3 separate regions of the Homo sapiens genome follow, and regions 1 and 3 are each linked to region 2. Evidence: promoter capture Hi-C in 16 types of primary human blood cells and fetal thymus (Javierre and others, 2016). All regions are on one chromosome and are shown on one strand. Each heading gives the region's core, a stretch centred on a gene start or on the middle of the fragment in contact. The rest is flanking DNA. Distances are from core to core; before and after follow the strand shown. Region 1 has its middle 20 kb from the start of CDC42EP1. Region 2 holds the start of CYTH4 (cytohesin 4). Region 3 overlaps LGALS2 (galectin 2).

Region 1 (4,654 bases), core at 1,486-3,985, 260 kb after region 2:
TCACTGCAACCTCCACCTCCCCGGTTCAAGCAATTCTCCTGCCTCAGCCTCCCGAGTAGCTGGGATTACAGGCATGCACCACCACAGCCGGCTAATTTTTGTATTTTTAGTAGAGACAGGGTTTCACCATATTGGCCAGGCTGGTCTCAAACTCCTGACCTCAAGTGATCCGCCCACCGTGGCTTCCCAAAGGGCTGGGATTACAGGCGTGAGCCACTGCACTCAGCCCTACGTAAAGTTTTAACCCAGTTAAGTATATTTTTTAAATCACTAAATAGTTCACACATATGCAAATGTTTAGAGAAAAACAATGAACACCAAAATATTCAAAAAGACTAATGTTTGGAAAGTACTCAGAATTGTATTCCCCAAAAATTCATTCCCCCAAGACCCACAGGCCTCAGGGGTCTGCAGGTCTCTCTCAGGGCCAGAGACGGGGAAGGGGCCACCTGGCAAGGGCGGTCCTTGGCACCTTCCCCCCTTTACAGAAGAGGTGTAGAGATGAGGGTCTCACTATGTTGCCCAAGCTGGTCTCGAACTACTGGGCTCAAGCAATCCTCCTGCGTCAGCTTCCCAATAGCAGGACACCCTGAGAAGTCTGAAGGCTCACGCCCAGACCCACGCACAGGTCTAGTTTTGGTCCACAGCATGGCGTGGGTGTGGCTTTGGAGTTGGCGGCAGCTGAAGGCTGGGTGACGTTAGCAAGGTCTCAGCCTCAGTCTCCTTATCTGAAAAACTGGATAGTAATTCCCTCTTTATACTGCGGCCATGAAGAAGAGGGCTGATGTGGGTGGAGTGACTGGTGGGGCAGGCGCTCTGTAAGTGGCTGTCAGCAGGGCAGGGGCTGGGCTCAAGCCTGTGACCACACTGCTCCAAGCTGGACACACGGTGGCGCCCTCGTCCCACAGGTGCAGCACCAGTTCTAGCCTCTGGTGGCATCGGTTACTGGAGGGAGGGAGGGAAGAAGAGAGGAACGGAGTTATATTTGCAAACACACTGCCCACTCTGGGCCCTAGGGGTGGAAAAGTGAATGAGGACCACACAGTTCCTACTCAAGGAGGCTGGATTGGAGGGGCTGGGAGCCCCAAGGAGGAGAGGAACGTGGGAGAGGGCACTGCCTGGGGATTTTGCAGTGGGTTGACTGGTGGCCCCCCTGCAAAAGACACGTCCACCTGGGACCAGGGAATACAGTCTTATTTGAAAAAAGAGTCTTTGCGAATGTAATGAAGATAAGAATCTCGGCCGGGCGCGGTGGCTCACTCCTGTAATCCCAGCACTTTGGGAGGCTGAGGCTGGCGGATCACCTGAGGTCAGGAGCTCAAGACAAGCTTGACCAACACAGCGAAACCCCCTCTCTACTAAAAATATAAATAAAAAATTAGCCAGGCGTAGTGGCGGATGCCTGTAATTCCAGCTACTTGGGAGGCTGAGGCAGGAGAATCGCTTGAACCCGGGAGGAGAGGGTTGCAGTGAGACCAGATTGCACCATTGCACGCCAGCCTGGGTGACAAGAACGAAACTCCATCTTAAAAAAAAAAAAAAGTAAGGATCTCAAGATGAGATCGTCCTGGATTATCCGTGGGGGGCCAAATCCACTGACAAGTGTCCTTACAAGAAGAGAAGATGCTGACACAGAGGGAGCTACACGGAAATGTCGGCAGAGGCAGGAGCGAGGCTGCCATAAGGCAAGGACACCTGGAGCCACCAGAAGCGGGAAGAGGCAAGGAAGGATTCTCCCCTAGCACCTTCAGAGGGAGCGGGGCCCCTCCAACACCTTGATTTCAGACTTCTGGATTCCAGAACTAATCATTTTTGTTTGTTTGTTTTTCAGTGACAGGGTCTTGCTCTATTGCCCAGGCTGGAGTGCAGTGGTGTGATCATAGCTCACTGCAGCCTTGACCTCCTGGGCTCAAGCGATTCTCCCACCTCAGCCTCCCAAGTGGCTGGGACTCCCAGCTCACACCACCATGTCCAGCTAATTTTTTAAAGTTTTTTGTAGAGATGAGGGTCTCACTATGTTGCCCAAGCTGGTCTCGAACTACTGGGCTCAAGCGATCCTCCTGCGTTGGCTTCCCAAAGTGCTGGGATCACAGGCGAGAGCCCTGCACCTGGCGTGGAGAGAATAAATTTTTATTGTTTTAAGCCACCAAGATTGTGGTCATTTGTTACAGCTGCCACAGGAAACTAATAGAGATGTTTAAATTTTCTTCCTGCCACTCGGTTCACTGACTCCCACTCCTAATAGCCTACAGGATTGTGCCCAAGGCCCCAAACTCCTGGCCCCCTACTTCCCCCCAAAACCCAAACTCCACCACACCCACTGCTCTCCAAACACACAGGCTATTTGACACCTCTGCACTCTTGCTTTGGCAGCTCTCTGTCTGGGATGCCCTTCCCTTGCTGATCCCCTGGACGACTACTACAGACATTTCAAAGTCCTCCTTCAACATCCCCTGCTAAGTATATTAGTATCTTCTGAATCAATGGCTTCCAGGACACTCACACTCCTCCATCTCCCTCAGCCCACTGTGTTCCTCGCTCCTTGTTTCATCACCAGCAGCTCAGCTACATGCCCCACCCCCTCCACTAGTCCTCTCCTGGCCTCTCCATCCCCAGAACTAATGCCCTCGTTCAGGAACCCCATCTCCCACCAGGCTTCTTGTGCCTACTCCTAACTGGTCCCTCTGCCCTGGTCTGGCCCCTCCAGTCCATCACCACTCTGTAGCCCTGGCGTTCAGCTCTACCATGTCACTCCTCTGCTCAAGAGCCTTCCATGGCTCCCTGCTGCCCTGAGGAGAATATCCAAAGGGAATGATAGTATCTTCAAATGCTCCTTCCCACCTCTCACCCCACCACTGTCCAACACATCCATGTGCTACACACCTCTGGGCATTTGCACAGGCAGTGGCCTTCCCCTGGCATGTCCTCTCCCTGTCTGCCAGGCATGCTCCAACCCATGTCTTGGGCAGCCCCTCCCACAGTACCCACCATTCAGCAGTGGCATCAGCTAAAACATCACAAGGCTGACCATACACCAGGTGCTGTCGTAAGCTCTTTACATGTGTTAACCCTTTGGATTCTCATAACAACACCAGGAAAAAGCCACCATTCCTGTGTCCAGCTCACGGATGGGAAAACCAAGGCCCAGATGGGAGAAGAACCATTCAGAAGTGGCAGAAGGAGGCCGGGCACGGTGGCTCACGCCTGTAATCCCAGCACTTTGGGAGGCCGAGGCGGGCGGATCACAAGGTCAGGAGATCGAGACCATCCTGGTTCACACGGTGAAACCCCATCTCTACTAAAAATTCAAAAAATTAGCCAGGCGTGGTGGTGGGCGCCTGTAGTCCCACCTACTCAGGAGGCTGAGGCAGGAGAATGGCGTGAACCTGGGAGGCGGAGCTTGCAGTGAGCCAAGATCGAGCCACTGCACTCCAGCCTGGGCGACAGAGCAACACTCTATGTCAAAAAAAAAAAAAGTGGCAGAAGGAGCCAAACCCAGCCTGCACTGTCAACCCTCCTGGTAGGGGCCTCAGAATTGTTGAACCTCCCCTTACCCATACCAAGCCCAAATGCACCACCCTCTCCTCCGTGGATTCCAAATTTTGTAAACACATCCCTCACTGTGCTGTGCAAGGGTTACCCCGATTACACGGTGGTCTTCCCCTCCCAGAAGCCCCCGGAAAACTTCACTGTTCTTGTCTAGGTCCCTGGTAACTGGCACAGTGCAGGAGTTTAATAAACGAGAATGAATGAGCTCATGAGCAAATGGTTTCCAGGGAAATTGGGCCCTGGGGATTTCTCACCCTCCTCAAAGAACAAATTATGCAAATTCTCTGGGACCAGGCCCTCTGCTTTCCTCCTCCCCACTAGGTTTCTGGGAGGGTGTCTGGGCTCACCAGAAAGTGCCCCGGGCTCTCTAGTGGCCCGTTTCCTGATTACAAATGAAACTAGGGCTTAAAGCTGGTGAATCACTAGCAACTGCCAGCCAGGGCGTGCTGGGTGTCAGGTGGGGTGGATGGGAGAAGGCAGGCTCACAACCAGACTTCCCTACTACTCCTGCCACCCCCAACTTTGCCATCGTGGCATGACCTCCCCAGCCACTGATGACACTAGCTAGGAAAGAGCCTAGCTCTGGGGGCTAGACAAGCTTGAGCAACTCCTGGACTGTCCACACTCCTATCCCTGAGCCTACCACCCCTGGGTCCCAGGAACCCACAGCCTGAACCATTCGCAAACCTCTTTCCCAAGCCCAGTCTCAGGTAACTCAGGGATGGTATCCAGGGAGGTACTGTATCCCCATTTTAGAAATACAGAAACCAAAGTTCAGGGTGAGGGAACTACCCAAGACCACCCCAAAGAAAGTAAGTAGGGCCTAGGAAGTTGAACCCCAGTCTTCTGCCTCTCCAGTGGGGTTTAAAGCAGAACTGGCCTTTTTTTTTTTTTTTTTTTTTTTTTTTTTGAGACTAGGAATTGCCCTGTGGCCCAGGCTGGAGCGCAGTGGTGCAATCATGGCTCACTGCAGCCTGCTCAAACTCCTGGGCTCAGGCGATCCTCCTGCCTCAGCCTCCTGAGTAGCACCACCATGCCCAGCTCATTTTCTTTTCTTTTCTTTTCTTTTTCTTTTTGAGATGGAGTCTCGCTCTGTCACCCAGGC
Region 2 (4,960 bases), core at 561-3,060:
AAGAACCCAGGTGGAGGCAGGGCAGGGGAGAAGCAGCGGGGTTCAAAAATCCTGAGCACACTAGACGGGGACTTAGTAGGCCTGGCTTCTGGGCCTGAATTGGCACTCACTCAAGTTCCAACTTGGTCAAGTGTTTCCCAGAAATAAGCCTCAGTTTTCTCTCCGAGGAAATGACAGCATTGGATTTCTTCTGTATCAGCAAGCTTTGGCTGCATAACAAAGCATCCCAGAAGTTGGTGGCTTAAACCACAAAAATGTATTATTTCCCACAGTGCTATGGGTCAGCAGTTTGGGTGGGACTCCGCTTGATGGTTCTTCTTCTGGTGTCCCCTGGCCTCACTGATGAGGCAGCAACCAGGGGACAGCCAAGACAGCCCAGCCTATCTCCTTGTGGTCCTCCGTCTTCCAACAGGCTAGCCCAGGCTTGTTCTCATGGTAGCCAGGCAGGGGGCTGAGAGCAAGAGCAGGAGCTGCAAGGCCTTTTAAAGCTCAGCCTCGAACATCACGGCACATCATTTCTGCCACGTGCTATTGGTCAAAGAGATGCCCAAGGCCAGCTCAGCTTCCAAGGAAGGAGAAATGGACTTCGCCCCTTGACAGCAGAAGCGGCGGCATAGTGAAAAGGAGGTGAACTTGTAGCTAGCTTTCACATCGGCCGTGATCTCTTCCATGTTCCCTTCATTCATTCATTCATTCATTCATTTGTTCATTCATTCCACACTTGCACACCCTCTATGTCCCCAGCATTTTACCACACACCAGAACACAAAAGGTAACCTTGCCCTCATGGGGCCTGGAGAGTAATGGGGAAACAGATGAATAACTCTGCATGTGTCCTGAAGTTATAGGGAATTCACATTTAATTTATACCTGTTTCTTTACAGCAAAGCTTTTTGCAGAAAGGATTTGAACCAACCTGCCAGAAAAGGCACAAGGAATAACATGATACATTTTAACCAAAGAAGATAATTAAAATCAAAGGAGAAAGTGTTTATTGAGCACCTACTATGTCCCAAGCATCTCCGACACATCCTCTCACTCCATGGTTTCCATATCCCCGAGTTAGTGTTATTCCCCTTTCAGAGATAAGCAAAGCGAGGCTGACTAGCCCTAGCTGAGAGTCAAACAGCTGAGTCAGGCCCCAAAGTTCACATGACATCATAGAATAGCTGTCGATGAGCTTTGGATTTGACGATGAGTTTCCCAGCAGCCTGGGGGAGAAGGAAAGTGGAACATATTACCCGATTGTTCACTAGACAAGAAAAAGCCAGATATTTCTTTGAAGGGAAGCAAAGCCCTTCCTAGCAGTGAATTCATTTGTCTCTTCTCAAGTGGGAGTTGGAAGAGAGCTTGTGGGGTGGAACACAGGGGGCCCTGCTAGGACTGTCCAAGTTGGGCGCTCCTATGGCATATATGTGAGGAGGCTGCCACGTGAATGCCCATGGTCCCCTGGAAAATGTTCGTCCTCAGTGAACATCGCCCTCGGTGTCTGTGCATGTGTACGTGTGTATGTGCATATGTGTCTGTGTGTTTCTTTCTGTCTCACTGTCTTTCTCTTTTTTATCTGGCCCTCCCCTCACTTCATCTGTTTGTTTGTTTGTTTGTTTGTTTGTTTCCACCTCTGTCCCTCCCTGGCAAAAGTCCCTGCTGCTCAAAACTCTGCCAGTTTTTAGGAAGTGCTGTTTTGTCAAAAGCCTGCACACGAGACCCCCGTGGGCCAGGACTGACTTCCTCCCCACACAGGGCTGGGCGGGGCAAGCAGGAAGGAGCCTGTTACAGTCAAGGTGACGCATCCTTGCCGGGCCAGCCCGAACAGCAGCTGGGTCGGCAAGCGACAGGAGCACGGGTCATCTTTTCCCCAGAGGCGTCGGAATGGACCTGTGCCACCCAGGTAAGCAACTGCCGTCAACCTCTCTGGGCCTCAGGGTGCTCTCTTTTAGAATGGGACAGCAGCCCCTGCCTCACAGGGTCCTAGATAAAGGAATACAGCGCAGGTGGGAAATGCAGCTGCAAGAAGCAAACATTTGTGGGCTCAGCCTGTGTGTCCAGTTGCGTTCTAGGGGCTGGACACACAGCAGTAGCAAAGCAGACGCTGTTTCCCCCTTCATAGGCTTGTGCTCTAGATGAGGAGACCGGCAGTGACTCTAATGTGATTCCATATGTCAGTTGATGGCAGGTAGGATGAAGAACAGTAAAGCAGGGTAAGGAAGACAGGAATGCATGGTGGAAAAGGCCCCAAGAGGAGATGCTGTCTGATGAGGGACCTGAGGAAGATGTCAGCTAAGGGGCTTTCTAAGGAACAAACATTCCAGCCAGAAGGAACAGCCAGTCCAAAGGCTCAGAGGTGGACTCAGAAAAGTGACTTGCGATTAAGATGATGATGGGATGTTGGTGATGGCGATGCTTGTCTGGGTGATACAAGGGCCTTGAGGCCCCTTTTTGGCCCCCGGGGGTTGGGGTGGTCTTTGGGGAGGCTGAGGACGCTGCCTAGAGCCAGGGGAGGGCCAGGAGTGAGCAACAGAGGCTCTGGTTGAAACCCTCCCCAGCTACTAAGACAATGTGTCTGGGGAGAAAGAGGAGAAAGGAGGCTGCAAAGATGGTGAGGAAAAGAACATCAGGGTCGTGTTTTGGGAGGCAAATTGAAGGCCCGGTAGAGGGGCCAAGTTTCTGCACCCTGGATGTCAGCATGCTCCAGAGCTGCAACAGTTCTGGTGAACACGGCTGCTGGAATTCCAGAACCTAAGGGCTCGTGGGAGCTGTCTGCTCCCCAGGTCCAGATGACCTCAGCCTTGTCCAGGAGCACCCTTGCTTCAAACGCACCTAATGTGGAGCAGCCTGGCCCCGCCCACTGGGCATCCCCCTTCCTCCCCACCCCCAGATGGAAGCCTCGGGCCCCAGGGAACCCAGAGAACCACTGATCCATTTCAACAGCCCCCCCAGTGGCAGAAGGGAGAAAAGAGGCCAAGGGAGGAAAACAGCCTCTCTAAGGCAGGAGCAGGACCAAATCCTGTTCCCTGAATCCCTATCCAGGGCTCACTCTGACCCCTGCCTCTCCCATGGGCTTTGGGGGCTCCCAAAATCACAGCTCAGTGAGCACAGCTTGGGGGCACCTGGTTGGCACAGGGAGACCCAGCGAAGGGCAGCACCTGGCTCAGGCCTCTCAGCAGACATGAGGGTGGGATGAGGGGGGGAGGGCACCCACCGAGATGCAACCCCCCTGCCTGTGTGTCCAGCAGGGCGCTTTGTCCTTTCGGGTCCTAACATACTGAGGTTACAGGGATGGCTGTCTCCATGTTGCAGATAAGGAAACTGAGGCTCCCAGAGGTGAACTAGAGACGGGGACTGACTTGCTTGAGGTCACACGGCCAGTCAGCAGCAGAGCAGGGACGAGAACCTGCGGGAGAGAGCCCCAGGTTGGCCGGGGCTATGGAGAGGGCAGGGGAGGGGAGTCTCTGCTTTGCTTCAGCCGGTACTAGGGAGGAAATGGATTAAATGGGGTCAATGGGTTCTCCATCGAGTAGTTGGTCTTTTCATTCATTCACTCTACAAACGACCTTCCAGTGTGCTATGCAGTGCTGGGGACAGCAGTGACCCAGCCATGGGCCTAACCCTGGGGGACAGGTGTTGGTCTGGAATGTTGGGGGTGGGGTGGAGAGGCAGGAGCCACATCCTGCAGGACCCTGACCCAGCTGTGCAAATGGACACAGACCTACAGATGGGAGGAAGCAACTTTTCCCACTGGGGCAGAGGAGATCTGGGAAGACCTCCTTGAGGAGGAGGCCAGAGGGAGGGAGAAAAGGTCATTTCCCTGTTGCCCAGACTGGGTCTTAAATGGGGCTTCTTCATGGCACGGTGACTTCCCCTCTCTGAGTTCTGATTTGTCATCTCTACGTGGGTGCCATCATCCTGGCCTGGCCTGGGGAAGCGGGGATTGGGAGTTAGCCGGACCTCGCTCAGGTTCCAGCTCTGCACCACCCTGCCAGTGGTCATGGTCTCTTCCTTCTATGGGCCTCAGTTTTCTCACCTTTATTATGGACAGGCTGGTGACTCAGGGGCCCCCAGGGCTGCCTCCCCTCCTCTCCTGAGGTGGGCCTGTGTCGGGAAGCAGGTAAGGCGCCCTCCCCCAGGGCCTGCCGGGAAGGTGAGAGGGCCAGACAGCAAAGCCCCAGTGTGGCCAAAGACAAGCACTGTGCTGGTGCAGAGAAGACAGGCAGCGCAGTTAAAAATAGAGCCAGCTCGGCTGGGGCGGTGGGGGGGCGGCGGGGGAGGAAGCCGCACTCCGCAGAGCCTGTGGGGCTTGTGGGGCTGGGGCGGGGAGCAGCTCCACCCACACCCCCTCTGCCCCAGGGTCCCTCCTACTGAGACTTTGAGGGGCCTCTTTATTTAGGGCCCTGAGATGGCATCCTCCTCCTGCCCTGGAAAGGGGAAGTGAGGCCAGCTGTCCTGGAAGCAGGGCTGCAAGCTCAAAGATTTCTAAAAATACGATGGGAAAGAGGAAGGACAAAGAGGAAGTGGGGAGGAGCCGGGGAGATGGGCACATTCACCAGCCTGGGCGCAAGGGCAGCACCAGCCTGTGGGCTTGGGGTGGGGGTTCATGTCACACCTTGTGAGGTTGTGAGAAGCACAGAGATAAGTGAGAAGGAAACGGGGTGTGTGGTGGTGGTGGTGGTGGTGGTAATTTTATTATTTGTGTGTATTATTATTAGTATTTAAAAATTCATCTCCTGGCCAGGCATGGTGGCTCACATCTATAATCCCAGCACTTTGGGAGGCCAAGGCAGGTGGATCACCAGAGGTCAGGAGATCGAGACCAACCTGGCCAACATGGTGAAACCCCCGTCTCTACTAAAAATACAAAAAAAAATTAGCCGGGCCTGGTGGTGGGCGCCTGTAATCCCAGCTACTTGGGAGGCTGAGGCAGGAGAATCACTTGAACCTGGGAGGTGGAGGTTGCAGTGAG
Region 3 (4,659 bases), core at 419-2,918, 290 kb after region 2:
TTTTTGTTTTTTTGAGCAGAGTCTTGCTTTGTCGCCCAGGCTGGAGTGCAACGGTGCGATCTCGACTCACTGCAACCTCCACCTCTCAGGTTCAAGCGATTCTCCTGCCTCAGCCTCCCGAGTAGCTGGGACTACAGGCATGTACCACCATGCCTAATTTTTGCATTTTTAGTAGAGACAAGGTTTCACCATGTTGGTGTGGCTGGTCTCAAACTCCTGGCCTCAATTGATCTGCCCACCTCAGCTCCCCAAAGTGCTGGGATTACAGGCGTGAACCAAGCCCAGCCTTAATTTTCTTTTTTAAATTTTTTCTTTTTTTCTGGACAGTGGTCTGCCCAAATGACCATCATTTTGATTACTTGTTGTTAAGATTCATCTGCTCCTTATTTTCCATAGGAAAGCAGCACCTGAATTTCTGTACAGTAGGAGCCTCCTCTAGCCTCACGATGGTTACTAGGGAAGATTTCTAAGCTGGGTTTTCAAAGCTCATTACCCAGGGCTGGGAGCGGTGGCTCACGCCTGTAATCCCAGCACTTTGGGAGGCTGAGTCGGGTGGATCACCTGAGGTCAGGAGTTTGAGACTGGCCTGGCCAACATGGAGAAACCCTGTCTCTATTAAAAATACAAAAATTAGCCGGGTGTGGTGGCACATGCCTGTCGTCCCAGCTACTTGGGAGGCTGAGGCAAGAGAATCGCTTGAACCCAGGAGGTGGAGGTTGCAGTGAGCCGAGATTGTGCCAGGCGACAGAGCAAGACTCTGTCTAAAAAAAAAAAAAAAAAAAAACTCATTACCCAAGACCAGTTTTCGCATCTATGACCAGAGGGTGAGGGTTGGTCTGACCAGGACGCAACAGGCACCAAAGATTTAGAACAACTTATGGGAGGACACTTTTACATTGTGGGAGTTCTGCTCACTGACTTTTTATTTCCAGAAAAAGCATGATCTGAGATGCCCTGAATGAGCTCATTGGACTGGGGCACTTTGCCAGAAGTCAAGGGGGCAGTGGCCATGGGAGGACCCTCAGTGCCCTCTCGCTGGCAGCCGCCTCCTCTCTGCAGAGGAGGAAGTGACCCGCTGGTTGGTCACATGTAGGGGTAGGTTGTTAGGTATTGCTCAACTCTTCCACAGGCAGTAAGTTCTTTTTTTTTTTTTTTTGAGATGTTGAGATGGAGTCTCACTCTGTCACCCATGCTGGAGTGCAGTGGTGCAATCTTGGCTCACTGCAACCTCCACTTCCCAGATTCAAGCAATTATCCTGCCTCAGCCTCCCGAGTCACTGAGATTACAGGCTCCCACCACCATATCTAGCTAATTTTCTTTGTATTTTTAGTAGAGACGGGGTTTCACCACTTTGGCCAGGTTGGTCTCGAACTCCTGACCTCAAGTGATCCTCCCCTCTGGGCCTCCCAAAGTTCTGGGATTATAGGGGTGAGATACCACACCCAGCATTTTTTTTCTTTTCTTTCTTTTTTTTTTTTTTTTGAGACAGGGTCTTGCTCTGTCACCCAAGATGGAGTGCAGTAGCACGATTATAACTCACTGCATGCAGCCTCATAGCCTCCTGAGCTCAAACGATTCTCCTGCCTCAGCCTCCTAAGTAGCTACGACTATAGACGTGTGCCACCATGCCCAGCTAATTTTTAAAATTTTTGTAGAGATAGGGTTTTGCTATGTTACCCAGGCTGCTCTGGAACTCCTGACCCTCAAGTGGTCCTCCTGCCTCAGCCGGTAATACATTTTTTTTTAAAGGTCTTGCTCTGTCACCCAGGCTAGAGTGCAGTGATATGATCAGAGCTCACTACAGCCTTGACCTCTTGGGCTCAAGCAATCCTCCCACCTCAGCCCCCCAGGTAGCCTGGACCACAGGCATCCCACCTGGCCCAGCTGATTTTTTTTTTTTTCAGATGGGGTCTCACTATGTTGTCCAGGCCAGCCTCGACCTCCTGAGCTCAAAGGATCCTCCCACCTCGGCCTCCCAAAGTGTTGGGATTACAGGTGTAAGCCACTGTGCCCGGCCTGGCAGTACATTTTATAAGAGACGCCTGGAGGAGGCAGCAATGCTTAACCCAGGACAGCGGGCCATGACGGCGGCATGTCAGACAGGAGGCTGCTCAGACCAGAGCTTCTCAGCCTTGGCCGTCTGGACGTTTGGGGCAGGCATTTCTTTGTTGGGGTCTGTCTCTTGTGTTGTAGGATGTTGAGCAGTATTCCTGGCCTCTACCCACTGGATGTCAGTGACACCCTCCCCTGAGCGGTGACAACCAAGAATGTCTCCAGACAGGGTCCGTTGTCTCCTGGGAGCAAAACCTCCCTGCTTTAGAGAAAGTGGGGTTTGGAGGCTGGACACCTAACTCCCCATGTCTTTGCTTAACACAACGGGGTTGGGTCCAGATTTTGGAGCCAGACAGACGGGATTAAAATCAGTCTCTTGCTGGCCAGGGGCGGTGGCTCACACCTGTAATCCCAGCACTTTGGGAGGCCGAGGGGGGCGGATCACGAGGTCAGGAGAGTGAGATCATCCTGGCTAACACGGTGAAACCCTGTCTCTACTAAAAATACAAAAAATTAGCCGGGCGTGGTGGCAGGCGCCTGTAGTCCCAGCTACTCGGGAGGCTGAGGCAGGAGAATGGCGTGAACCCGGGAGGCGGTGCTTGCAGTGAGCCAAGATGGCGCCACTGCACTCCAGCCTGGGCGACAGAGCGAGACTCCGTCTCAAAAAAAAAAAAAAAAAAAAAAAAATCAGTCTCTCACTGACAAAGACCATTATCTCTGGGAGATGAGGTTATCCAGTGAGGACAGTCCAAAAGGGGCTCAAACAAGAAACAGAAGACAGGTGTGCCCGCCACACAGACACTCACAGACGTGTGCCCTGCGCACACACACGTCTAACACCAAGCATCAGGAGATGGCTCCCTGCCTCCTGCCAGCAGCCTGTGCCCACACCCCGAGCCCTGCAACAGTCAGGCCAGGATAGGGGAGCTGGGCCTGGACTAAGAGAAGCACCCACACTCCCCTTGCAGCTCCTGGGGGCTGCCTGACTGAAACAGCAAAGCTCAAACCCCAAGGATAGAGGTGGGGGCTGCTGCAGGGCAGAAGCACTCGGAAGTCCAGGGTCAGGGGTGCACTTGGACAAATAGGGATGCTGAGAGCTGCGGGAGGGTGCAGGCCCGGGAGCCTTGTCCCCACCCAACAGAGTCAAAGGCGCAGAGAGAGACAGGCAGAACTGGGTGGGGGTGTGGTCGTCCCTAGAGCTGGGGGGGTGGGGAGTTGGGGGCCCAGACTCTAGTGCCGACTCTGCCCCTAATTGGCAGAGGGGCCTGGGGCCAGCTTAGCCCCTTTCTGGGCCTTGGTTCCCTTATCTGTCGTATAAGGGATTTGGATGATATGGCCTCTGGAGCTGGAGAGAGAGGAAAGAAAAGGCAGAGGTGAGATGACCAGGAAAGAGAAGGTGGGGAGAGTCCGTGGGCCACAGCAGTCCTCCCCGAGAGGCAGAGGGTGATGAGGGCATAGACCCTTCCACGCAGGACCCCTGGCACATTCACATCCTGCATCCCCCCTGCACTTGAATAGCGTCCCCCGAAAATTCATGTCCACCTGGAACCTGTCAATGTGACCTTTTTTTTTTTTTTTGAGATGAAGTCTCACTCTGTCACCTAGGCTGGAGTACAGTGGCTCGATCTCGGCTCACTGCAACCTCTGCCTCCCGGGTTCAACCGATTCTCCTGCCTCAGCCTCCCAAGTAGCTGGGATTACGGGTGCCCACCACAACATCTGTCTAATTTTTTTTTCTTCTTCTTCTTCTTTTTTGTTTTTGTATTTTCAGTACAGACAGGGTTTCACCATGTTGGCCAGGCTGGTCTTGAACTCCTGATCTCAAGTGATCCGCCTGCCTCGGCCTCCCAAAGTGCTGGGATTACAGGGGTGAGCCACCCCGCCCAGCCTCAATGTGACCTATTTAAAAATAGTTCCTTTGCATATGTAATCGAGTTAAGAGGTCATACTGGTTTAGGGTTGGTCCTAAATCCAATACGACCAGTGTTCTCATAAGAGGAGAGAAATATAGACACAGAGACGGAGACACACAGAGGAGTCCACGTGAAGTTGGAGGCAGAGATTGGAGTGATGCAAGCCAAGGAATGCGAGGAGCCACCAGAAGCTGGAAGAGGCAAGAAAGAACCCTCCCCTTGCGCCTTCAGCAGGAGCGTAGCCCTGTAGCACCTTGGTTTCAGGTTTCTAGTCACCAAAACCAAGACAGAACAAACGTCTATCGTGTGAAGCCACCCACAATTTGGTGGTAATTTGTTATTGCAGCCCTAGGCAATGAATACACCATCTAATCCTCAGAAGAGGCAGCCTGTGATCCCCTTCCACAGATGTAAGGAAGACTGGGGCTCAGAGACGGTCAGTGACTTGGCCAAGGCCACACAGTAAAGCTGTGGCAGAGTCTGGTGTAGAATCAACGAATCAGAGACCTCAGTGGGAATCCACTCAACCCCTTGTGATTTGCAGCTTGTGGCCTTGGGCAATTTGCTCTCCAAGACTTGGGTTTTGTGTGTGGGTATATGAGACAAGGTCTCACTCTGTTGCCCAGGCTGGAGTACAGTAGTGCAATTACGGCTCACTGTAGCCTCGACCTCCTGGGCTCAAGTGATCCTCAG

What was found. Contacts are between HindIII fragments. The CHiCAGO score rates a contact against its expected background, and 5 or more counts as called.
Region 1: a contact is called between a fragment that was not itself captured here and the fragment with the promoter of CYTH4 in region 2, in 1 of 17 cell types (non-activated CD4 T cells). The highest score is 5.4, in non-activated CD4 T cells.
Region 3: a fragment that was not itself captured here is called in contact with the fragment with the promoter of CYTH4 in region 2 in 3 of 17 cell types (naive CD4 T cells, non-activated CD4 T cells and naive CD8 T cells); the score reaches 5.4 in naive CD4 T cells.

What each region holds. Positions count from the first base shown.
Region 1 is chr22:37,538,108-37,542,761 of GRCh38, forward strand. No RefSeq gene overlaps it. Among named protein-coding and RNA genes, the nearest start is that of CDC42EP1, 20 kb to the right of the region's middle. RefSeq lists enhancers at 1-50, 157-658, 659-1,158 and a silencer at 777-966. The HindIII fragment of the contact is 2,819 bases long and covers 1,327-4,145 here.
Region 2 is chr22:37,280,698-37,285,657 of GRCh38, forward strand. It overlaps CYTH4 (cytohesin 4), which reads left to right and starts at 1,811. Exons shown (of 13, transcript NM_013385.5): 1 at 1,811-1,891. The coding sequence starts at 1,873. RefSeq lists enhancers at 1,570-1,619, 3,166-3,215, 3,828-3,937 and a silencer at 4,168-4,287. The HindIII fragment of the contact is 11,420 bases long and covers 888-4,960 here.
Region 3 is chr22:37,573,737-37,578,395 of GRCh38, forward strand. All of the region lies in intron 1 of LGALS2 (galectin 2), which reads right to left. Among named protein-coding and RNA genes, the nearest start is that of LGALS2, 4.0 kb to the right of the region's middle. The HindIII fragment of the contact is 9,142 bases long and covers 1-4,659 here.